Linked DNA regions of Homo sapiens: region 2 is linked to region 1. The links are contacts of gene promoters, found by promoter capture Hi-C in human tissues and cell types (Jung and others, 2019). All regions are on one chromosome and are shown on one strand. Each heading gives the region's core, a stretch centred on a gene start or on the middle of the fragment in contact. The rest is flanking DNA. Distances are from core to core; before and after follow the strand shown.

Evidence for each region. The method cuts DNA at HindIII sites, captures the fragments that hold promoters and counts their contacts. A contact is called where the count stands out against the background at its distance.
Region 2: a fragment that was not itself captured here is called in contact with the fragment with the promoter of SLC26A3 in region 1 in 1 of the 25 tissues and cell types used here (dorsolateral prefrontal cortex).

The regions. Positions count from the first base shown.
Region 1 is chr7:107,799,778-107,807,219 of GRCh38, forward strand. It overlaps SLC26A3 (solute carrier family 26 member 3), which reads right to left and starts at 3,446. Exons shown (of 21, transcript NM_000111.3): 1 at 3,334-3,446. The HindIII fragment of the contact is 6,982 bases long and covers 1,625-7,442 here.
Region 2 is chr7:106,820,518-106,827,959 of GRCh38, forward strand. It overlaps LINC02577 (long intergenic non-protein coding RNA 2577), which reads left to right. Exons shown (of 5, transcript NR_170304.1): 2 at 2,547-2,664. Among named protein-coding and RNA genes, the nearest start is that of PIK3CG, 41 kb to the right of the region's middle. The HindIII fragment of the contact is 7,636 bases long and covers 1-6,391 here.

The DNA of each region.
Region 1 (7,442 bases), core at 2,196-4,695:
ACTTCTTAGCCTTAAGTTCATAGGTAGCAGTCTCAGAAGTGAGTTAAATATTGACTGTTGGTGGAATTTACAACTGGTCCACAAAAGTCAGCTGGAACCTGTTGGAAAATGTTAGTGCTGCCAACTTTTCTATGACTTTATGTTTACTCTGAGCTTATCTTTAGAAGTAGCAGTTTTCCATTTTTATCCCAGTTTGTTTTAACATAGTTTTAAAATAATCTAGCTATCCGAGCTTCCTAGAATGACATACAAGGTCCTTCATGTTTTGGCTCTGGTCTATCTCACAAGCTTCTTCACTCCTCCTTCACAATTGCAGCAGGTTCCTAACACGCTATGATATTTAACAGTTCCGTATCTCTGTACACATGATTTCCTTTGTGTTCTTCTTCTCCAATACCTGGTAGATTCCAATTCATTCTTAAAAATACTCAGCACAGCTGGGTGCAGTGGCTCATGCCTGTAATTTTGGCACGTTGGGAGACTGAAGTGGGGAGATTGCTTGAGGCCAGGAGTTCAAGACCAGCCTGGCCAATATAAAGAAACCCTGTCTCTAAAACAAACAAACAAACAAAACACAACTCAGCTGACCATTGATTCATTTCTTCATTCCTTCAACAAACATGTATCAGCCTATTATTTGTCAGGAACTCAGTTCCTAACACAGTTGTAGAAGATAAGAAAATGATGTAAAGCCTTCATGGAATCCCTAGATAGAGTTGATCATTTCCTTCTTGTAAGTACCTTGTATATATGTCTATTCCATGTCATACATTATTTGTTTATGTTTCTGTTCCCTTTAAGACTGAGTTTCCCAAGGGCAAGGCCCAAATCTTAACCATTTTTCCCTCTTTTGTTAGGTCCTATGACATAGTAAGTATACAAGAAAGTTTGTTGAAATAAACTGAACTATGAGCAAAAGATATATAAATGACGTAGACCTAAACTCCAAAGTTTACATACACAGGAGAAGTGCCCAAAATAATTGGTGCAGATAATAAATTGGAAGAAGGGATGTAAATGTGGGTTGGAGTTAGGAAGGTTTTGTGAAGGAACTGTGAGTCTTGTGTTAGACTTTAAAGAACAGATAGGTTTGGCAGGGGTGATGACAAAGCAGTGGGCAATAAGCAAATCATGTGAAAGGTTATTGAGAGTTCCAAACACTGAAACAGAAGGCTTTGTTGGCCCATAGGCTAAACCATTAGAGAAATGTTGGGATGCACCATAGCAAGGGATTTCACACCCAGTAGGCTCACAGCAGGCAAAAGAGAATCCCTGGCCATTTCTGTAAGGCTTTGAGATTTTCTGAGCACTTTCACTTTTCTTCCTTGAGTATTACTGTGGATGGAGGCAGACAAGATAGGCTGTATTGTCGCTAATTTACAGATGAAGAAATGGAGATGAGAGAAGATAAATGACTTTCTCAACTTCCCAGAGCCAGGATGAGAAGCCACATCTAGTGAATAACTGACTCTCTCCACTACGTCTTCTTCTCTGCTACATATTCAATGTCAGGGGTCTCAGCCCCTACCCCCAAGAGAGACAAGGTAAAAGAACAAGGTGAGGCACCATCAGGGTCCTTGCTTTTGAGCATGAAAGCCTCACACTCCTACACTCAATATCCACAACACAAAACATGAGCCTGGTGGCCTGGGGACAAATCTCCTTGAGGTGACTTGCTTTATTCTTCCCCTTGCTTCTCAACAAAGTGACACAGAGGCTAGAGGAGCCTCTTCTCTTCTCTTTGGAGAATCAAAGACCTTTATTGTAGAGAAGCACCAGACTGTGTTATTACATATTTATTCTTGTAATTGAAAAATATTCATTCTCATTTTCTGAACGATTTTGTTTCTTAGTCGAATATGAGCTGTTTAGGAGGTATTAAACATTTGTTCATTTCTTTATATACTTACTTATTCCCTTATCCAGAGGGAGAAGGCAAAGTATGTATTGTGTTACCCCATTTTTCTTGTTTCTGAAATCAAATTAGTTGCTTCCTAAATTTTCATTAGGAATAATCCTTGGCCGGATGGGGTGGCACATGCCTGTAATCCTAGCACTTTGGGAGACTGAGGTGGGAGGATCACCTGAGGTCAGGAGTTCGAGACCAGCCTGGCCAACATGGCGAAACCCCGTCTCTACTGAAAATACAAAAAAAAAAAAAAAAAAATGCCAGGCACAGTGGAGCGTGCCTGTAGTATCAGCTACTTGGGGGGCTGAGGCAGGATAATCACTTGAACCTGGGAGGCAGAGGTTGCAGTGAGCAGAGATTGTGCCACTGCACTCCAGCCTGGGCGACAGAGTGAGAATCCGTCTCAGAAAAAAAAAAAAAAAAAGGAATGATCTTTATGCAGTCAAATTTCATGACACAGTTTTTCCAAATGACTAACTTACTTCAGAAAAGAGAATTATTTAGTCCAATAATTTGATAAATTGTTCCTCACTTGCATATATAAAGAAAGTTGTATAATCTTTTCCTGACATTTTAAAGAATAAAATAGATTTTATCTTGATAGAGTTAGTAATGTATGGGATAAGTACCCATACATTACTAATGTATTATATTATATTATACTACTTGTGGCATAGGGCATTCTGCTACTTTCCAGTGACCATTTTCTCCCCATCTCTCTTCTCTTTCCAGTCTCTATCCTTCTTACTCTCATTGCCTTTTCTTCTCTCCGTGTTTCCCTTAGTCTTGGACTTTCTAGGATGTCTAGCAGATAAATCTCTCACTTCTAGACCATATGTCCCCTACCCCCTCCCTTTTTTTTTAAGAGACAAGGTCTTGCCATGTTGCCTAGGCTGACCTCAAACTCTTGGGCTAAGCTATCCTCCTGCTTTAGCCTCTTGAGTAGCTAGGACTATAGATACATATCCCTATGCCTGGCTGGGACCAGATGGCCTTTCTGAATCCTTTCTAGTAGGTGATTCTCTCTCCTGGAGAAACTCTTTCCTTAAAGCTTGCTTTTTTTTTTTTTTTTTTTGCCAACCCTCAGAGCAGACAATCTATCTATAAAGTCAGATTTGAGTGGAGAATTAAAGGAATTATCTGAATAATTAAAACAAGAACACTAATATCTTTGAAAAGGCTATTTAAGACTTAATGATGCCTACAACCATTTACTTGTTAAAGTCTACTTAAATATTTATTCTACATTGCTAGCGCTCCAGACATACATGCATATCTTATTAGTGGATTCATTCAAAATATTCACACACATGGAATAAACTCAAGAACATAATAACTCCTAAATAGGCTTTGATCAGAAAAAATACCATTTTCAAGGAACAGAAAACCAGTTTGAATATAACAATCATAAATTTGGTTCCTACCTGACACATACTCTGTGAGGAGCTTCTGCAACAGTGGTACATTTTCAAGATAAAGTTCTAAGTTCTAGTTCTAAGAGGCAGTGTCCATCCACTCAGGTCTACAGGCTCTGTGTGCATCCATATGCATAGGGATGTCTATATATAGGCTATGTAAGACAGTGGACAAATTACCTTTCTGTCAGCTTTAATAATTAACTCTCATTAACTTTTACAACAATGAAAAGACTGCAATGTGGTCTTGACCTTTGAGACTTTGATCAGCAGAAGTGATGATGAAGATTGCTTCCTCAAGTTCCTTGTGAGATTAAACCACCAGTGGGTGGTTTAATGCACTTGTGTGTACGTAATTTCATTGGTTTGCAGAGATTGCACAGCAGATGCTCACGTGTACTTAAAAAAAAAAAGAATCTTCTCAAGGGTTATCTCCTTGACATTTCACCAACCTGTTTAGATGAGAGTTTAGTGGTGGTGTTTTTTGGCTGGATGACTCCATGGAATCTGTCATGGGCTGCAGAAGTGTGGTGTATAGGTTAACTCCTGGTATGATAAAGGCCCTCATTAGGAACACTCACCCAACTCCCAGCCACAGGCCATATCTGCATTCCAATTTCTGCCCCCACCACAGCTCTTCCTAAGAGCAATAAACCCTATGTTGCTAAACACAATGAATACTTTCAACTCTCATCTTACTTAAAAGCATTTGGCATTGCTGACTACACTTTCATGAACTCCTCTTTTTATTTTAAAAATTATTTAACTAATTAGTTAATTTTAGAGATGGGGTATTGCTGTGTTGCCCGGGCTGGTCTCAAACTCCTGGCCTGAAGTGATCCTCCTGCTTTAACCTCCTGAGTAGCTGGGATTAGAGGCCTCAGCCATCATGCCGGGCTAAAATCTTCTCTTCTTGAAATGCTAAAAAAAAATTTTTAACACACTTGTTTTTCACCTCATCCTTTTTGCCAATTTCTCCTCTAACTCTTTCTTTGGCATTTCCTAAGATTCTGTTCTGAATTTCCTTCTCCTCTCTTGCTACCCTCTTACCCTAAATAAGAGTCCTATGGCTCCCAGCAACATTCAGATTTCTAACCCCAGCTCTCTAGGTCCACATATTTAACTGCCTATTCCACATCTTTGCTTGGATGCCTCATAGGCATCTCAAACACGACACATATCGAGATTAAGACCTCTTGATCTTTCCTCCCAAATCTGCTCCATCTCTAGTCTTCCCCATTTCAGTAAAGAATATTCCCCTTTACTCATGTCAGAGACCTGGGAACCATCTCTGACACTTCTTCTTGCAGACCTTCTCCCCACCCGCAGCCAATCCATCCTTAAACCCTATTGAGCATGCCTCCAAAATACATCCCAAAGCCATCACTTTTCTTCATCTTCACTCTTACCTTTGCTGCACTTCTTGCTTCCTCTCGCAGCCCTCCCCATCTCTTTACCACTCATTAATCAGAATGATCTTTTCACACTAGTCCTCTTTGTGGGGCTGATGATTACACAGAGGGAAAACAGGCCTCCAAAGTCTTTGCATGATCTCCCCCTGCACAACTCTCCAACCTCATCTGACTCTGCTCTTACTTTTGTTTTCTCCACTCCCACCATGGTGGCCTCCTGTAGTCCCAAATTTGCCCACTCTTTGCAGACATCATTTTCTCTGCTTAAATGCACTTCTCTCTCTCTCTCGGTTTGGCTGTTACTTAGCTTCAACATCACTTTCTCAAGGAGAACCACTTTGACTTCCTAATCTCAATTAGCCCCTCTTGTGGCATTCTCTCAGAGTATTTTTTTAAGTCCCTTGGTTAATTTGCATGTACTTTTTAAAACATAGCATCATAATTTAAAAATACACAATTATTTACTTGGCTAATGTTTGGCTTTCTCATTAGAATGAAAGCCCCACACAGGCAGGGACTTTGGCGAATTCACTGCTGTATGCCCAGTACCTAGAATGAATCTACCACAGAACAATGACTCAATAAATAGTGGTTCAATGACAGTTCAATCAATGAATTATGTTTGCTATAAGACAATTCCAAAAGAATGTGGACAGGTCATTAGCGTTTGTTAGAAATTAATCTAACCTGTGTTTTTAAATCTGGCTCACACCTGTGCTAACTGCGTAACTGAATGAGCTGTGGTGCCACTTATCATGCTTTTATCAACATTAGCTAACTTTAATTAGTGTTTAGTATGGGCTGTAACTTTGCAATGTGTTTTATTGGGTTTATCCCATTTAATCCTCATAACAACCATAGATAGCTTAGTATTTTTATTCCTATTTTACAAATGAATAGATTGAGTTTTCACTTGTGGTGAAATCTCAATTTTTAATTTTTATTGGCTTTTATTGAAGCCAGCTAGAATCCAGAAAGCCTAACTTTGTCATGTCTTTACTGTATAATACTGCTTTTTATAATTTTAACAGATGTACAGAATATTTATTCAGAACCACTATACACTGATTAAATTTTGTATTTAGATGTGGTTGATGGAAGAACTGGAAAATATTGCACTTAAAGGTAGAGGCTCAGAATTATTGATCAGCATAAAAATGATTTATTTTAGAACAAATAAGAGAGTATTGCAAGATTGATGGATACAAGCTGAACAAAGGCAAATTATTACACGATATATATTACATAGTGTATAGCCTTCCTATATACTAATAATAACCATGTAGTAAATGTAATAAAAAGAAAGATATCATTGGTAATAGCAACAAAAGCTACAAAGATTAGTAGAAATAAATCCTTTTTGTTTTTTATTTTTAAGAGACAAGGTCTGGTTCTGTCACTAAGGCTGGAGTATAGTGGCTCAATCATAGCTTTCCGAAACCTTGAACTCCTGGGCTCAAGTGATCCTCCTGCCTCAGCCTCCCAAGTAGCTTAGACTACAGGCACATGCCACCACACCTGGCTAATTTAATTTATTTATTTGTTTTGAGATGGAGTCTCACTCTGTTGCCCAGGCTGGGGTGCAGTGGCTCGATCTCAGCCCACTGCAACCTCTGCCTCCTGGGTTCAAGCGATTCTCCTGCCTCAGCCTCCTGAGTAGCTGGGATTACAGGCACGCACCACCACGCCTGGCTAATTTTTGTATTTTTAGTAGAAATGGGGGTTTCACCATGTTGGTCAGGCTGGTCTTGAACTCTTGATCTCGTGATCTGCCCGCCTCAGCCTCCCAAAGTGCTGGGATTACAGGAGTAAATTTTTTAATTTTAATTTTATTTTGTAGAGATGGGTTTTTTCTATGTTGTCTAGGCTGGTCTCCAACTCCTGGCCTCAAGCTATCCTGCTACCTCGACCTCCCAAAGTGCTGGGATTACAGGCGCAAGCCACTGTGCCTAGCTGGAGTAAATCTTATCTAAAGATATATAATGATGAACTTTATAGAGATAATTAGAAAACATTATTAAAGGACAAAAACAAAACCTAAGAAAAATATAGCCGGGTGCGGTGGCTCACGCCTGTAATCCCAGCATGTTGGCAGGCCGAGGTGGGCAGACCACGAGATCAGGAGATCGAGACCATCCTGGCTAACACGGTGAAACCCAGTCTCTACTAAAAAATACAAAAAATTAGCCGGGCGTGGTGGTGGCAGGCGCCTGTAGTCCCAGCTAAGCAGGAGGCTGAGGCAGGAGAATGGCGTGAACCCGGGAGGCGGAGCTTGCAGTGAGCCGAGATCGCACCTCTCCACTCCAGCCTGGGCGACAGAGCGAGACTCCGTCTCAAAAACAAAAAAAAAAAAAGAAAAAGAAAAAAAGAAAAATATGAAGCCATAAATCTTCATGAGTGTGAAAGTTCAATATCATATAGATGTTTTCTTCAAATTAATCTATTACATAAATGCTATTACAATGAAAAAGCTTTTCTTTTTTTTTTTTCATAGAACTGGACAAACTTGGCCTAAAACTTGTATGGAAGAACAAAGGGCCAAGAAAAGTCAAGACGTCAAGACAATTTTTGAAATTGATGCATAATAATTGTATATATTTATGGGATATATGTGATATTTTGATATATGCATACAATGTGTAATGATCAAATCAGGGTAATAATGATATCTATCACCTCAAACATTTATCATTTCTCTGTTTTGGG
Region 2 (7,442 bases), core at 1,324-3,823, 980 kb before region 1:
GTTATTTCCTCAGTTCCAGAATGTATGATTGGAACAGACGTTCTTGCCAGCTGGCAGAATCCCCATATTCCTTAACCTGTGGAATGAGGGCTATTATGGTGAGAAAGGCCAAATCAAAGCCATTAGAGCTGCCCCTACCTAGGAAAATAGTAAATCAAAATCCATTGATTGCGTCCCTGAAGGGATTGCAGAGATTAGTGCCACCATCAAGGACATGAAAGATGCAGGGGTGGAGATTCCTACCACATCCCCATTCAACTTTTCTATCTGGTCTGTGCAGAAGACAGAAGACAAATGGACTCTGGAGAATGACAGTGAATTATTGTAGTTTTAACCCAGTGATGACTCCAATTGCAGCTGCTATACGAGATGTGGTTTCATTGTTTAAGCAAATTAACACAACTCCTGGTACCTGGTATATAGCTGTTGATGTGGAGAATGGCTTTTTCTCCAACCCTGTCCATAAGGCCCACCAGAAGCAGTTTGCTTTCATCTGGCAAGGTCAGCAATACACCTTTACTGTCCTACCTCAGAATTATATCAACTATCCATCTCTATGTCACAATTTAGTTCACTGGGATCTTGATCACCTTTCCCATCCACAAGATATCATTCTGGCCCATTATATTATGCTGATTGGACCTAGTGAGCATGAAGTAGCAAGCACTCTGGACTTACTGGTGAGGCATTTTGTGTGTCAGAGGGTGGAAAATAAATCCAACCAAACTTCAGGGCCTTCTAGCTCCATGAAATTTCTATGGGTCCAGCAGTGTGCGGCATGTTGAGATATCCCTTCCAAGGTGATGAATAAGGTGTTCCATCTGGCCCCTCCTACAACCAAGAAAGAGGCACCATACCTAGTAGGCCTCTTTGGATTTTGAAGGCAACGTGTTCCTCCTTTTGGTGTGTTACTCTAGCCCATCTACCAAGTGACCTGGAAAGCTGCTAGTTTTGAATGGGGCCCAGAACAGGATAAGGCAGAGGCAACAGGTCCAGGCTGCTGTGCAAGCTACTCTGCCATTTGGGCCATATGACCCAGCAGATCCAATGGTGCTGGAGGGGTCAGTGGCAGATAAGGATGCTGTTTGAAGCCTTTCATTGGTCCCCATAGATAAATTGCAGCAAAGGCCCTTAGGATTTTGGGAGCAAGGCCTTGCCATCATCCACAAATAATGACCCTTCTTTTGAGAGGCAGTCTTGGCCTGCTACTAGGCCTTAGTAGAAACTGAACATTTGACCATGGGCCACCAAGTAACTATGCAACCTGAGCTGACCATCATTAACTAGGTGTTAACTGACCCACCAAGCCATAACGTTGGGCATACACAGCAGCCCTCTATCATCAAATGGAAGTGATATACACATAACTGGGCCCAAGCAGGTTCTGAAGCACAAGTAAGTTACACAAAGTGACCCAAATGCCCCTGGTTCCAACTACACTGCCTCAGCCTGCACCAATGGCCCCATGGGGAGTATCCTATGATCAATTGATAGAGGTCCCAGTTTACAGGTGGTTCTGCATAATATGCAGGCACCATCCAAAAGTGGACAGTTTCAGCAATACCATCCCTTTGTGGGACATCTTTAGAGGATAGCGGTGAAGAGAAATCTCAGTGTGTAGAACTTTGGACAGTGCACCACGTTGTACACTTTGCTTGGATGGAGAAATGGCCAGATGTGGAATTATATACCAATTCATGAACTGTAACCAATGGTTTGGCCAGATGGTCAGAGAATTGAAAGAAACATAATTGGAAAATTGGTGACAAAGAAATTTGGGGAAGAGATATGTGGATGGACCTGAGTGGGAAAAAGATGTGAAGATGATTATGTCCTTTGCCAATGCTCACCAAAGTGTGATCTCAGCAGAGGAGGACTAATAATCAAGGAGATGGGATGACCCATTCTGTGGATACTAGTCACCCTCTTTCCCCAGCTACCCCTACCATCATCCAATGGACTCAAGAATAAATTGCCCAGCGTGGCAGAGATGGAAGTCATGTATGAGTTCAGCAACATAGACCTCCACTTAGCAAAGCTGACCTGGCTACAGTCACCTCTGAGGGCTCAATCTGCCAGCAGCCAAGACCCACACTGAGCCCTTGATACAGTATCATTGGCTTCGGTGGATCAGCCAGCTACCTTGTGGCAGGTTGATTACTCCAATCTCTGGAAACACCCTGACATACCCAGAAATAATGCTTTACCACTTCTCCAGGTATTCCTCAATCCAGTCAACATGACACCTAAAATTAATGATGACAAGTCCACCTCTTGTCTGTACTTAATCTACACACCTACACACCTCTCTGTAAACTGAACTTAATCTCCAAGTAAAGACAATAACAAGGTAATAGACCCACCTAACCTGATACAATTATCCTGCATACAATAAAAAACTAATCCCTTACCCAGAAGATGGGGTAAAGTCCTTGAATGATATTTACTTGTCTCCTGATATTTCATAACTTAAATACTATGATGTAAAATTAACAATACTTAAATACTGATATAAAGTGAATATATCTTTTTTTTTTTTGAGACAGAGTCTTGCTGTGTTGCCCAGGCCAGAGTGCAATGGCATGATCTCAGCTAACTGCAACCTCCACTTCCTGAGTTCAAGTGATTCTCGTGCCTCAGCCTCCTGAGAAGCTGAGATTACAGGTACGTGCTACCACGCTAATTTTTTGTATTTTTAGTAGAGATGGGGTTCCATCACTTTGGCCAGGCTGGTCTCCAACTCCTGGCCTCAAGTGATCTGCCCACCTCAGCCTCCCGAAGTGCTGGAATAACAGGCGTGAGCCACTGTGCCAGGTCCCTAAAGTCAATATATCTTATGTTAAATGATTAAGAGAGGAATGAAAACAAAGATATTTGTTTAATATATGTGTGTATACACACACACGCACACACACACACACACACACAAATGTATTCTGAACAAAATACGGAGAAAATACTGATGACAATTACAGTCCTCATTTCTGTAACTGGTCACACAGTCATAACTGGTATTTATAACTACTTTCTTCCAATATCCATTCTGTATTCTCTTTGCCCTCAGCAAGCACCTCAGCTAGTCACGGTTCTTTACCTGGTGGGGTGAACCTTCATTTCTGAAGGGTCTGGGTCAATTGTAGTCCTGCTTGGATTAGGTTGTTGTAATTTTCCATTGACTTTAATCACAGAGTTTGGTGATACTAAGAGATGCCCTAAGGGATCTTCTGTATTCCAGACATACTCTCCCTTAACCCCAATGTGGAGTACTCATCCAGTTTCCCCTTGGTAGTCTGGATCAATTTCCCCAGCCAACACAGTAACTCCTTTGTTTGCCTGTTGACTCACAGGCATGAGGAGCCCAAAGTGACTGGGTGGCAGTCTTAACTTCCAGTTGAATGGAATCATTGTTGTGTCTCCTGGTGGCAGCACTCTTCTCTGATGCTAAGACTTGTAGGCCAGCAGAGCATAAAGTCACAGAAACAGGAAACAACATTTTTCTAGTGGGTCAATAGGGATAATGGCAAATGGTGCCACTCCCACTTCCATCATAGGATGGGCAACATTTCGTTCTTACCGGCACTTACTCTGGATATAGATTTGCCTTCCTTGTATGCAATGCTTCTGCCAAAACGACCATCTGTGGACTTACAGAATGTTTATCCATTATCTTGGCATTCCACACAGCATTGCTTCTGACCAAGGAACTCACTTCCCAACCAAAAATGTGCAGCAATGGGCTCATGCTCACGGAGTTCACTGACCTTACCAAGGTCCCCATTGTCCTGAAGCAACTGGCTTGATGAATGGCATTTTGAGTCACAGTTACAGCATCAACTAGGTGATAATACTTTACAGGGCTGGGATGAGGTTCTCCAGAAAGCTATATATCCTTTGAACCAGTGTCCAATATATGGTACTGTTTCTCTTATAGCCAAGATTCACAGTTCCAGGAATCAAGGGGTATAAATGGGAGTGGCACCACTCACCCTTATCCTTAGTGACCCAGTAGCAAAATGTTGTTTCCTGTTTCTGTGACTTTATGCTCTGCTGGCCTACAAGTCTTAGCATCAGAGAAGAGCGCTGCCATAGGAGACATAACGATGACTCCATTCAACTGGAAGTTAAGACTGCCACCCACTTTGGGCTTCTCATGCCTATGAGTCAACGGGCAAACAAGGGAGTTACTGTGGTGGCTGGGGAAATTGATCCAGACTACTAAGGGGAAACTGGATGAGTACTCCACATTGGGGTTTAGGGAGAGTATGTCTGGAATACGGAAGATCCCTTAGGGCATCTCTTAGTACTACCAAACCCTGTGATTAAAGTCAATGAGAAATTACAACAACCCAATCCAAGCAGGACTACAATTGACCCAGACCCTTCAGGAATGAAGGTTCACCCCACCAGGTAAAGAACCATGACCAGATGAGGTGCATGTTGAAGGCAAAGGGAATACAGAATGGATATTGGAAGAAAGTAGTTATAAATACCAGTTATGATCATGTGACCAGTTACAGAAATGAGGACTGTAATTGTCATATTTCTCCCTATTTTGTTAAGAATGCATTTGTATTTATATATACATATATTAAACAAGTATCTTTGTTTTCATTCCTCTGAATCATTTAACTTAAGATATATTGACTTTATATCAGTATTTAAGTATTGTTAATAATACATCATAATATTTAAGTGATGGGATATCAGGAGACAAGTAAACATCATTCAAGGACTTTACCTCCTCTTCTGGGTAAGGGTTTAGTGGTGTTTTGTTTTGTTTTGTTTTGTTTTGTTTTTTGAGACGGAGTTTCACTCTTGCTGCCCAGGCTGGCGTGCAATGGCATGATCTCTGCTCACTGCAACCTCCGCCTCCTGGGTTCAAGCGATTCTACTGTCTCAGCCTCCTGAGTAGCTGGGATTACAGGCATGCGCCACCACATCCGGCTAATTTTGTATTTTTGGTAGAAACAGGGTTTCTCCATGTTGGTCAGGCTGGTCTCCAACTCCCCACCTCAGGTGATCCGCCTGCCTCACCTTCCCAAGGTGCTGGGATTACAAACATGAGCCACAGGATAATTGTATCAGGTTAGGTAGGACTATTACCTTGTTATTGTCTTTATTTGGAGACTAAGTACAGTTTACAGAGACGTGTGTGGGTGCCAAGTTGACAAGCAGTGGACTTGTGATAGTTAATTTTAGGTGTCAACTTGACTGGATTCAGGAATACCTGGCGAACTGGTAAAGCTTTATTTCTGGGTGTGTCTATGAGGTGTTTCCAGAGGAGATTGGTGTGTAAGTCAGTGGAGTGAGTGGGAAAGATCCACCTTTGATGTGGCCAGGCACCATCCAATCAGCTGGGGACCTGGATAGAACAACAACAAAAAAAACGGCAAAGGAAAGATGATTTTCAATCTCTTTCTCTCCTGGAGCTAGGATATTCTCCTTCTGCCCATAGACTTTAGAACTCCATGTTCTTCAGCCTGTGGATTCCAGGACTTACACCAGTGGCCTCCTGGGTTCTTAGGACTTTGGGCTTGGACTGGAAATTACACCACTGGTTTCTGGACTTTTGGACTTGGACTGAACCATGCTATCACCATTCCATGGTCTCCACCAGCTTGCAGGTGGCCTGCAGTGGGACTTCTCAGCCTCTATAATAGCATGAGCCAATTCCCCCAGTAACTCCCTGTCTTATATCTATAGCTATAGCTATACCATATTGGTTCTGTTGCTCTGGACAACCCTGACTAATAAATACACTGGCAGATATAGAAACAGATAATGACAGCATTTTTGAATACAGGTTAAAATAATTTTCTGAAATCAACTCTAATAAAAAGGACAACCACTTATGAAACATTTCCTGCCATATGGACCTATATAGGGAGAAGGTATTTTCCAGTAATGCCTTTATGATTATAATTAACATTTAAAGAAATGAAGAATGACAGCTTTTATAAGCAGTAGCTGGAATTAGCTGTAGTGAGAAAAAGTGAAGTCCTCCATTTTTACACTTTCTAGTCTCAAGTGTCTTGTTTCCACAACTTCATCCCTCTCTTATTATTTTAGTAAAATCCTTCCCTGTGTCACCCTCAACACCAAAAAATATATTAATTAAAAGCATTCTCATTAAAAATCTGTCGTGTCTTTTTATCTGCATGCATTTCTCGTTAAGCCCTGTACGGTCTTATCTATAACAATAAAATTTCATCATCACAGGATGGCTGTCTCTGGTATTAGTTCTGATGAACTGGTTTTAGAGTCTAAGTCTCAAGAGACTTTGTTCACAGAGCAGGTTTTGCTTATGTGGACTTAGGTGGACACCCATGGCCACCATAGTCACTTTTGCTGGCAACGCCCAAGATAATAAAATCTTACTATTCTACTAAATCCCTCAGCTCATCTGTAACTCCACCCTGGCTGTTCCTTTACACTTGAGGGGCCTCAATTGGACTTCCAGGGTATCATGGATTTGGTCCACAGCTAAACATATATCCTCAACCACTTAGTCCTAAATTTTGTGGCAAAATATCTATGGTGATAAACAAACATTGGGAACTTAATATAGTCACAGAGAGTACATACTCTATTTTATGCAGACAACCATGGACATGTGCAATAAATGATGTTAGTTGTGTGTATGTGAACAGAGTTTAGTGTTATCAAAACTGCTGAAAAGCTAATTCGGCACCTTCAGCGACGTGTCTATTTAACATTCTGCTGCATAGTAATTATGCATAAATGGGAAGCAGTTTTCATAAGTTGTGGTGATTACTTTTACCATGCCAAGTTTTATAGTGTTTTTAGTGTGTGTGGCCGGGGGAGATTTAATAATGTCTGTAAATAATGTCGATGTCAACAGAGTCCCCTAACATCATATAAATCCAAACAAAGGCACCAGTCCAAAGACTGATCCACCAATTTCTGGGACCCCCTGGGCAGTAGTATTCACCTGCTGGCACTGGAATCAGATTGTGTGTTTTCTTCAGTGTGCCTCTATCTTCTGGGTTAATTATCCCCCATGCTACACATACCAATGCTTCCTCATCCTTATATAAAAGAACATTGTACATCAATTAACTTTTTATTGTTCTCCTTTCAAAAAGCTGGGCCCCATGCTTTAAAGGCCCCTAATGTTACCAAAACTAGAAAAGAAATGTATCAGAGAACACATGGTCACCTTTGTTCCTGGGAACCAGGTGTTCAGAACTGACACAATATCACAATATAACCCGTGATCCTAAACATCTGTTCTCATGACTAACACCATTCAGGACCCAGCAAAACACTTCTTTGCATGTCTTGCACTATGTATGCCCTATGATCTCAAAATGAAAGTTGATTCCAGCTGAAGGACTTGAAGGTTTCTGGGATGTATCTGCTGACTTCTGAGCTGTTGCTTTGAGACTGGGGAGATGTGACAGATGGAAACATCTAAGTAA